Regions from separate parts of the Homo sapiens genome. Here region 1 is linked to region 2. Evidence: promoter capture Hi-C in 16 types of primary human blood cells and fetal thymus (Javierre and others, 2016). All regions are on one chromosome and are shown on one strand. The core of a region is centred on a gene start or on the middle of the fragment in contact, and the rest is flanking DNA. Distances in the headings are between cores, read along the strand shown. Region 1 overlaps PLEKHG1 (pleckstrin homology and RhoGEF domain containing G1). Region 2 holds the start of PLEKHG1 (pleckstrin homology and RhoGEF domain containing G1).

Region 1 (5,382 bases), core at 2,042-4,541, 49 kb before region 2:
TTCATAATGTGGTCAGAGCCTGATGAGTTAAAGTACTTAGGAAAGAAACAGAGTAAAATAATTGCCTGGACCTAACAGAAAGGCATATCTCCTCTTCCTTCTTTCCCTTTTAGTGTCATTGTGGTTTTTCAAGAACCAACACCACCAAGTTAAAATGAGATTTTCAATCTTAAAGAAAAATACGTTAAAAATACCACAGAACTTTTCTAGCCAATGAAAAGGATTTAAAATATTACCTAAAGACTAATTCAATAAAACCAGAAAGCCAATGGGAAGAAATGACTCTGAAATGGGTCATGTGCGATTACACTTGATTCCATTTTGAGTCTTTATGTATGTTAATCTGCAGTACGCATTTTCTTTAATTTTTATCCTTTGGTAACAATATTTGTCATTATTCTATACAAAATAGTTAAAGACTTTTTTTTTTCTTTTGAGAGAGAGTCTTACTCTATCCCCTAGGCTGGAGTGCAGTGGTACAATCTCCGCTCACTGCAACGTCTGCCGCCCTGCTTCAAGTGATTCTCCTGCCTCAGCCTCCCGAGTAGTTGGGATTACAGGCACGTGCCACCATGCCCAGCTAATTTTTATATTTTTAGTAGAGATGGAGTTTCACCGTGTCGGCCAGGCTGGTCTCGAACTCCTCATCGCAAGTGATCTGCCCACCTTGGCCTCCCAAAGTGCTGGGATTAGGGGCGTGAGCCACTGTACCTGGTCTAAAGACTGAGAATAGTTTTTTCTGTTTTAAAAAAGACTACAGGGCTGGGCATGGTGGCTCTCACCTGTAATCCCAGTACTTTAGGTGGCCGAGGTGGATGGCTCACTTGAGGTCAGGAGTTCATGACCAGCCTGGCCAACGTGGTGAAACCCCATCTCTACTAAAAATACAAAAATTAGCCAGTCATGGTGGTGCGTGCCTGTTATCCCAACTACTCCGGAGGCTGAGGCAGGAGAATCACTTCAAATCGGGAGGAGGTTGCAGTGAGCTCAGATCGCACCACTGCACTCCAGCCTGGGTGACAAAGCGAGACCCTGTCTCAAAAAAAGAAAAAACTGACTACAGTAGCTCCTCTAATAGGTGATTTCACTTTCTGCAGTTTCAGTTACCTGCAGTCAACTGTGGTCTGAAAATATTACAGTATTTTGAGAGACAGAGAAACTATATTCACATAACTTTTATGACGGTGTGTTGTTATAATTGTTCTATTTTATTATTCGTTGTTGCTAATCTTTTACTGTGCCTAATGTAGACATGAAAACTTATTATAGATATGCATGTATAGGAAAAACAATTCACATAGAGTCAGTACTATCCATGGTTTCAGGCATCCACGGGGCGCTTGGAACATATTCCCCACAGATAAGGGGGACTGCTATACTTGAAAATCGAAAAATGTGACTTACAGAGTACACTTATACAAAAATACTAACAAACTGAAATTATGAATACGTTCAGCTTTTAACATATGTTTCATACTCAAGGGGCAAAAAAATGAAAAGAGCTCACTTTTATAGTTGAAACCTTTTCAATGTCTTCACCCACAGACTCTTCTCATCAGTCTTCACCTGTAGTAAAAACAAAAAATAAATTGCTTTTTACTTAAATATTGCTTTCTCAGAATTCTTTTAGTGGAACATGGATGAGCTATCAGGGCTAATTTTAAGTTGTTTAAAAGGAAGACTAGATGCCAAAAGGCCAGGATATTCCCAGGAAAAGGCCATATCATGCTACTGGACTGTAATAGGCCTATAGCAGTAATCATAAACATTTAATTAAAAAATGAAAAAATTCACAGGATGTGGTATTAGAAAGTTACTGAAGTCCTATCATCCTTGATTTTCCCTTTCCCTTGAAATAATACTCAGATAATTCAAAAGGAGACTTGAACATACAATAGCTCTGTAAACAGAGGAGTTCAGTGACTTGCCAGAAACCAGGAAGAATTTCCCCCAACAAAGGAGAGAGAAAACGCGAGGCCATGAAGCAGGGAATGGAAGGAGAGGCTCTGATTTCAATCCTTCTCCACCGCAGCATCCCTAGCTCCAAAACACAAGTCCTCCAACAATTGCCTAAGGCCACAGCCACTCTTCTCTGAGTTCTTCTCACTTTCCATCAGTGCAAGAGAGTTGAGGGGTCGAGCTCATTGGGGTGAGGCTTACATCTGGTGAAATTTGGGGCTGCAGTTTTTCTGGTCACTGTTTTGGTTTTTTTTTTCTTTCTTTTTTTTTTTTTTTGAGACAAAGTTTTGCTCTCGTCTTTATTTTTATTTATTTATTTTTTTGAGACGGAGTCCCGCTCTGTCGCCCAGGCTGGAGTGCAGTGGCGCCATCTCGGCTTACTGCAAGCTCCGCCTCCCAGGCTCACGCCATTCTGCTGCCTCAGCCTCCCCAGCAGCTGGGACTACAGGCACACGCCGCCACGCCCGGCTAATTTTTTTGTATTTTTAGTAGAGACAGGGTTTCACTGTGTTAGCCAGGATGGTCTCGATCTCCTGACCTTGTGATCCGCCCGCCTCGGCCTCCCAAAGTGCTGGGATTACAGCCATGAGCCACCGCGCCTGGCCATTTTTTGTATTTTTAGTAGCGACAGGGTTTCACCATGTTGGCCAGGCTGGTCTCGAACTCCTGACCTTAGGTGATCTGCCCGCCTCGGCCTCCCAAAGTGCTGGGATTACAGGCATAAGCCACCGCGTCCAGCCTGGTCACTGTTTTTAAAAAGAAAGAACCGCAGACATTTCAACATTTGCAGAGTTTTAAAATTAAAAAAAAGTGCCTAGAAATTTCTCAGCTGGGTATCTTCATGAAGAAAAGTTACTCGAATATATTCCAGTTGATTGAGGGATGAATCAAAAGAAAAACTTCAGAGTGAAAAGGTAGATACACAATAGCACTGGTGGGGAACATTAAAGGCAGGCACAGAATGTGCTAATTATTATTATTATAAAAATAGCCCAACTAGAGTGCCGGATTCCAAAATTTTTGAAAAACAAAAAAACTTAATAAAAAGCTTTACTATAATTAGCTCCACCTAGGTCTGAAATCCTAGCTCATATGATCAAAAATGGGGAAATGAGTGGGGATAATGAAAATTAGCTAATTTTATTCTGCATAGGAGGAGTAAAAACAATGCAGTTTCATTTGTAACACGAGTACTTTTTCATTGAAGAGAATAAAGAAATTAAATGTTTAAGCTCAGTTAAGTCTGAAATAAATATGATATAGGCAAGACAAATTAAAAAAAAAGCAGGATTCTGTGATTTAAATATTTAAAAACAAGTAGGTGGTTCATTGCAGAATGAAATACTTCATGGGCAGATTTCTGACAAATTTGGTCTTAACATCCAACCAAAAACTAGAATTATTAGAGGACTATATCACAGAAACAGAAAAGATGAAAAAAATCATGAATACTATATAAAAATATCCTTGTGAATAAATTCAAACATTTCATTGGAAACAGTTTTATAAGGTGATATTTAATTATCAACACTGAACCAAAAATATAAAGGCTAAACAACTAATACATACAGTTTACCTCAAGGATTAGATAATTCCCAAACTATATGAAAAGCTTTCAAGATAGAGGGAAAATGAGGCTCCCCAATTTGATAAAGCCAGCACAAATCTGATAAGGTACAAAGAGAGAAAAGGAAGAGGCATGTTTGACTTAGATAAGATGTAAGAACCCTCAATAAAGTGCTCAGAAAACTCAATTTCTAGTATACAACACATCTCCATAAATAAGGTTTATTCTATAAATATTATATAAATAGATCCATTATGCCCTATCAATAGGTCACAAAAGATCAACACTTATTCTTATCTTCAAAGATGACAAAATGGCATGGGGTAAACTCAGCACCTACATATGGTCATCTCTCAGTGTATGGAGAAATAGGATAGTTTGCCATGATTTTTAAGAAGACCTGAAATCAATAGACATTTTTATTAAAAGTCAGGAATGAAAGTCTCACTGTGCAACAGTGAAAGAAAATAAACAGCCAAATTATCCCCATCAGCAGGTGACGAGGTTGAATACCTAGAAAGATACCATAAAAGAAATATCTTTTTAAAACCTATTAGAAATAGTAAAGGTTAAGATCATTTAAAACAAATTATTTAAAAAGCACTGGTTTTTATCCAGTGGCAGAAATGATGAGTCACAAACAAATTAAAATGAAGACAGTCTGAAAATAGATCATATTCAGAAAAATAATGCTTAAAGAATCTATATAGAAGACATTTAAAGAAATCTTTAGACAATGATTCCCTCATGAGAAATGATGAAAAATGCAAATGTACTTTTTTAAAAAAAGAAAAAAGCATCATCTAGTCAGGAAATTCAATATGAGGTAAACCAATGAGTTTATAATTTCAGTTATTATAGGAATATGAGAACAGCAAGAGGGCTTTTACAATCAGCAATGTTTATTTATAGGTGAATACTTGAGAACCTCAGAGGCTGTTCTATAAATTCAAAATAGGATTTTTTAAAAAATTAAGAATATTTGATTGTCTGGCCTTAAGTACAACATCCACTAATATATTATACTCAGGACATAAAATCCAATTAGAATTTTACGTCAAAACAAAACTTCATTACACTTCTGAAGGTTGGGGAAGTGTTAAAAATAGCCATCAGTGTTATATTTGTGAAAAGAAAATGCTGACTGCACTTCACTGAATCACGGTGAAACAGGTCATATTTTATTGCTTTTGGCCAAAGAACAATGCTAAACTTATAGTCTACACTATAAGCAAGGTGATGTTTAAAATAAGTTACATAGGCAAAACACAACTCGTGATTTGAGCATAAAAATAAATAAAATGTCAGGGTTGATTTTGTAAAAAGGAGACCAACCTATCACCATGTCCTTTTAACTACAGTGTCTAAAATAGGCTTACCTTTAATTTTAGACAACAGACTCAAAGCTATGTGTCCCTGACAATAACTGTGGATCAACTGTATTATTCCAGAATGAATGTTAACAACAATTACCCACGAAAGAGACCAATCTTGCTTTTTATATGCAGGACAAAATAAAAGGCCATTGTTATTCTATGTGACTAGGTAAAGTGGCTTTTAATGGTCTGAGTTAGGCATGGCTTAAACAAGGAATGATTTAAAGTCATGTCTGATAATACTTCTATATACGATACTGACTACACAAAGACCCAAAGCATAAAAATTTTCCCTAAAATGTCAATTATTTGATATATAGGAGCCCAATAAATTTGTTCGTAAGCACAAAATATGTTGTTTCTTGAGTAAAACACATGAACTTTGTAAAAGAAACAAGGAAACAAAGTGAGGGGAGAAATCCATATAAGGGGCTACCAGAAATGACAGGACTTCAGATCAGTGTCGAATTGTAATAATGC
Region 2 (5,346 bases), core at 353-2,852:
AGACCAAATTACAGGGGGTAGGGGTTTGGGAGGGGGATGAGGAATGAGCAGGAGGCCGTAGAAGCTATCTGGTTCGTGTGCACTGCTTTATAAGGGAGGCAGCCAAGACGACCAGAGGCAAGTATCTTGCCCAGGGTCCCACAGGGCAAAATTAAAGTTCGAAAATTTTCTGATCTCCTGAAATGATGGGCTTGGAAATGTTTTTAACAGCAATTTAATCAAAATCCAAAATCTCTACATTTTTTAGAAGTATGCTGTCTACAGAATCTGAGAATCCAGAAGATGCCGGTTTTAACACCTGGTTGTTATTGTACCGCATTACAGGACCTACCCAAGCCCGGAATTCTGTTAGATGACAAACTGGACCCTAGAGTTAACATTCTAGTCTTTCCCCCGGTCTAAATACAAAACACAATATAGTTCTGTATCCAATCTGTTCAAAACTCCTAAACCAACTCTCAGTCTGAGATGGTCCTCGCGGGGTGATACCTGCCCCAAACACCCACACTCGGTGATTTCGAAAATACGTGCAGTAGCCTCGGCCACCTGCGGGTGGTACAAAGGGCGCCTTGAGGACCAGAGCTGGATGAAACGCCGGCTTACAAACCCCGCTCCGCCAGCACATTCAAGTCAAGGATCCAGCTCATTGTTTCCGAGGAGCGGAATGAATTGACCAGCCGAGCGCCGTTCTCCCAGTTAGAGCGTTCCCAAGCTTCCGGCTTCGGAACGGGGCTCACCGCGAGGACACAAAAGGGGCGAGCTCGGGCATCACTGCGGTTCCCCGCCGCCCGCCGAGGCCAGAACGCTCGCAGAGTCGCGGCCGCCCAGGTGTTACCGTTTACCCCGTGACGGAAGAGCCACAGGCTCTTGACTCCCCACCCCCTGAAAAGCGCATCTGCAGAACGGGGGCGCCCCCAAGCCCTGAGCGCCGCAGCAGCTCGGCCGCCGCCCCCACCGCGCGTCCCCGGGTCCTCGGGCTCCCGGCTTCGCTGCTGGGGAGCTGACCCAGCTGACTGGCTGTGGGGTCCCGTTCTGGGGCTGTCCTGCTGAGTCGGGGGTGGGGAAGCGGTGGCTACAACTCCCGGGTGCTCGCAGAAACTCCTCTGCGCGCTGATGTTGCAGCCGCTGGGGCGAGGGGCGGGAGCACCGGGAACTTGGGGGCGCGGAACCCCAAGCGGGGCGGCGGCGGGCAGCATCCCCGACCCGACTCCGACCCCCGAGACGCGGCGCCCCCCAGCGCCCTCCGTCCCCACCGCGCGGTGCCCCCGGCGCCCTCTGTCCCCACCGCTCGGCGCCCCCCAAGGCCCTCCGTCCCCACTGCGGAGGGGCGCGCAGGGGGCCGGCGGGGCCCGGGTACCACGCTCCGCCCGGCCCCACCTGCGGATGTGGGGCTCCCGCCGGAGGTCCCCGGGTCCCCCCTCCCATCCCTGGAAAAGTCCCCAGGGCGTCCGGGCCCGACCGGCGCTTACCCGGGGAGGGACGGCTTCGCATGCCCGGGCGGCGCTCGCAGGTCGGGCGGGGAGGGTGCGGGCTGCGCTGCGCCGGCTCGGGCTGCCGGAGCGCCCTGCAGCCGCCGTCGGGCTCGGGCTCGGGCTCAGGCTCGGGCTCCGACTTCCTCTTCCTCGGGCTCGGCCCCACTGCTCGGCCGCGCCCCGGCCCGCCCCTCCCCGCGCCCAGACGCCAGCTTCGGCGGCCGGAGCAGTGGATCGCTCGTCCCGCCTCCCCTCTGCCCTGAGGGTGAAAAAGGTGGAGAGGAGGGGGGCGAAGAGAAAGAGAAATTAGGCACTTGGCCTTGTCTCTGGAGCCTTGCCAAAGAGAACAGTCAAATTACAGCTTCGGGGGGAATAAAGTTTTTTTTTTTTTTAATTCTGCTACTGTTTTCGCAGACACATCACTTTTTTTCATTTTCCTAGCTCTTCAGGTTTAGCTTTCCTTTGGACGTAATAATTTCCTATGTGAGTCCTTTAAAATAATACCCAAAATCATGGTTTTAGTGAACATTCTAGTTTTACATAGAAGCTTTGCCGGTAATCAAGTGAAAAGAGGGGGAAGCCCGGTGTTCTTCAGGCGTCATTACCCTAATCACCTCGGTTAAAGCACCAAACGACCTTTGCCTAGAGAAAGTAAAAGTGGAAACGGAGGTAAAGAATAACCGGTGACAGCCAGAGAGATGTTTAAAGGCACCGGCTCTGCAGTAAAGTTATGACTCCAATCAAAGGTGCCTGCAGCGACAGTTAAAGGCATGTGAAGTCATTTCTTAACACTAATCTCCCGCCAAAGTCGGACGTATCAGGGTCGCCTGTGGACCCCCTTAGGTTTGGTGGTGGATTTGATTGCACTCTTAGTTGTTAACAGACCTTCAGCCTTACCACTTGCTAGCTGTGTGGCCTTGAGAGAACGCTTTAACCTCTCTGTGTTCTGTCTGTTTCCTCATCTGTAAAATGGAGATGATGATGATGATGATGATGATAGTGCCTACCTCATAGAGTTGCTGTATGTGATTTAAATAAGAGAATGTGCGTGAAGGGCTTAGGAGACTGTCTGGCACATGCTCTACAGCCTGAATAAATGTTAGCTATTCTTGTTGATTTTTGCCTTTTATCTGCTTTTATGCATATACATGATTATGGAAATTATCATAAAGACTGGGAACAAAACAAGGTTTGTGCAGTAAGGCTACACAGCATCACAGTTCTCTACCACGTGGAGTTTATGTTCTGTTTTATAATTTGAGTCTCCACAACTGACTTGTATTACCTAAAACTATGGGACTGGGTTATGCTTGGAATACATTTACCACGGTAGATTTGCAATGGGACTAAAACAGACATTTGCCATCTTCAAAGCATTGTTTCAGTTGGCCTTGCGATAACCTTGTGAGGTTGACAGGACAGGTGCTAGTCGCCTTTCACAGACAGGAAACTGAGCTTAATTAAGACCCTGCCCAGCTTCTGGAGCTCACACAAAATCATGCCTGTTACCCCATCTCTCTATGTTGTGATTTGTGTTAGAAGTGTGCAGTATGTTTGTGAAATAGTACCACATTAATGGTTTCCATCAACCCTGTGAGGTAGGTGCCAGCCTTTATTTGACACTCAAAGCATCTAGGATTCAAAGAAGCTCATTGATGAGTGTGTCTGTGGCTGAGAGATAAGGGTTTCCGACAACTTGGAAAGGAAGGGAGGAGAATTGGGGATTCCTGTTCTCTGCTGTCTCCTCTTTTATTGATTGATTGATTGAGACGGGATCTCGCTCTGTTACCCAGGCTGGAGTGCGGTGGCACCAATCATAGCTCATTGTAGCCTGGAACTCCTGGGCTCAAGAAATCCTCTGGCCTCAGCCTCCTGGGTTGCTGGAACTACAGGTATGCACCACCATGCCGGGCTTACTTACCATTTTTTTTTTGTAGAGACCGGGGTCACGCTATGTTACCCAGGCTGGCCTCGAACTTCTGGCCTCAGGCAATCCTCCAGCCTCTGCCTCCCAAAACACTGGGATTACAGGAGTGAGCCACCATGCCTGGCCTCAGTTATGCATTTCTTAGCACAAGTGCTTCGAATGAAGCTGTGGATGAAGCACTATGATCTGATGAAAAGACTGGATCAGCTGCAGATGCTGCTGCTCAAGAGCACTCACCCTTAGGCAGATAGCTCTTCTGAATTTGGTACTGTGCTTATGGGATGGTTATAATATTTCCTGGCCAGCCCGCTCACTTCACCTCAGTTTATTAATGAGGTGGGAGGTAGAAAGTGGAAACAGGAACAAGAAATTTCTTTTGTTGAGACTGTATGCCAAGTATAGCACTAAGCACCTAAGTCCTGTGATCATTCCTGATTTCCAGGCAAATGAACTCTGCCCTTTAGATCTTTAGAATTTGAGCTCCTTGAAATCACCTGGCCTGACACATTGTGGGTCTGGTTTGTGTGTCCAGCACTTAGTTCAGCTCCTAACACACAATAGGTATACGATATTCAGTGTGTGGATTGTTGGATGGATGAACGGACAACATAAGAGTTGTGAAGATGCTGTAGCATTCTGTTAGTAAGAGTCTACTCTTCCACTTTAAGGAAAAGGACCCAATGGAATGGCTTTCTAATGGTGCATCCAGCATTGGGAAAATTCTTTTGGCGAGTGGTCTTTCTAATACTGCTCTATCAGTCAATGTCAAACAAAGGGAACAGAACCCAGTTCAAGTATTTATAAAAGAGGGACTTTAATGCAGGAAATTGGCTCTACAAGTGATGGAAGAATCAAGAATCCAAAAAGAGACAGTGAGGCAGCCCAGAAATTAACAGCAACAGAAAGTCACTACCACTCCTAGACAGAGGAATTCAGAAGACACAGCCTGAAGGAGTGTTCCCCCACCCATCCCCATAACCCTGTGATTCTGAGTGATTCTCTTCACAAGAAGAGGCTGAGGGCAACAGGCCCAGGCTTAGCCCACCCTCAAATTATACCTTTTCCTTCTCAAGTAAAAGTGGGTCTATCAATTAGATTTCTGTAGAAGAGAAGTTCTTGCTTTTTAAGATGACTGAACGTCCTAAGTGATGGGCTGATGGTGAAACAAACCACCATGGCACACATTTACCTATGTAACAAACCTGTACAACTTTTACTTTAAAAAGATTATTAAATGCCTCTTATGGTGTCTTATTTCTTCCTCGTACAGATTCAGTAAAGTAGATACTATAATCCCTGAATTATGCATAAGGTCACAGCTATTCAGGAAAGTTTGGTGACTTGCTCAAGGCCACACAGCTATGCGAGGCAGAGCAGAATGCAGACAGCTCTGCCTTCCGGTTCTTCTCATCTCACGAACTCAGCTGTTTGTCCTGAAAGGCAGCACAATTGCACAGTTTTGTGCAGTATCATATTTCAGGGTCACCAATCCACGCACATATGGGAGCTAATGTTTGCAAAGCTTACAGAGTTAAAAGGCTCGATCACACCCTGCCTTAACTTTATGACATATGGTGATAACTTTTATGATGCGAATAGTGACTATACTAAATTTATTATTACACAAGATCAGAAATATGTCCACTGGATTGTAGGAGAACTTGAGGGACAAAAAACAGGTAGCATTTATCCCTTTTCTGGCAGGGGATGGGGAAGCTATTTCAATTTCAAATTTGGATGTGTGAGGCTTAAAAAATACTCTCTAGAATGTCCTGAACTTATTAGAGGGATTAGGGTAAGAGAAGGGACTCACGTAGGAAAAAGTCTCACGTAGGGAAAATGAAAGACCAAGAGCATAAGTAAGTGCATATAGGATGACATGTGTCTTCAAATTCTATGGAGCCGGGAGTGGCCAGCAAAATCTACATTGGTGCTGCTGTTTCTCTC

The links. The method cuts DNA at HindIII sites, captures the fragments that hold promoters and counts their contacts. A CHiCAGO score of 5 or more calls a contact.
Region 1: a contact is called between a fragment that was not itself captured here and the fragment with the promoter of PLEKHG1 in region 2, in 2 of 17 cell types (total B cells and naive B cells). The highest score is 6.1, in total B cells.

What each region holds. Positions count from the first base shown.
Region 1 is chr6:150,646,912-150,652,293 of GRCh38, reverse strand. PLEKHG1 (pleckstrin homology and RhoGEF domain containing G1) reads right to left here. Exons shown (of 17, transcript NM_001029884.3): 2 at 1,508-1,566. Among named protein-coding and RNA genes, the nearest start is that of PLEKHG1, 50 kb to the right of the region's middle. The HindIII fragment of the contact is 564 bases long and covers 3,010-3,573 here.
Region 2 is chr6:150,596,141-150,601,486 of GRCh38, reverse strand. PLEKHG1 (pleckstrin homology and RhoGEF domain containing G1) reads right to left here and starts at 1,602. Exons shown (of 17, transcript NM_001029884.3): 1 at 1,470-1,602. RefSeq lists silencers at 925-1,094, 1,305-1,784, 1,580-1,874, 2,055-2,114. The HindIII fragment of the contact is 1,307 bases long and covers 715-2,021 here.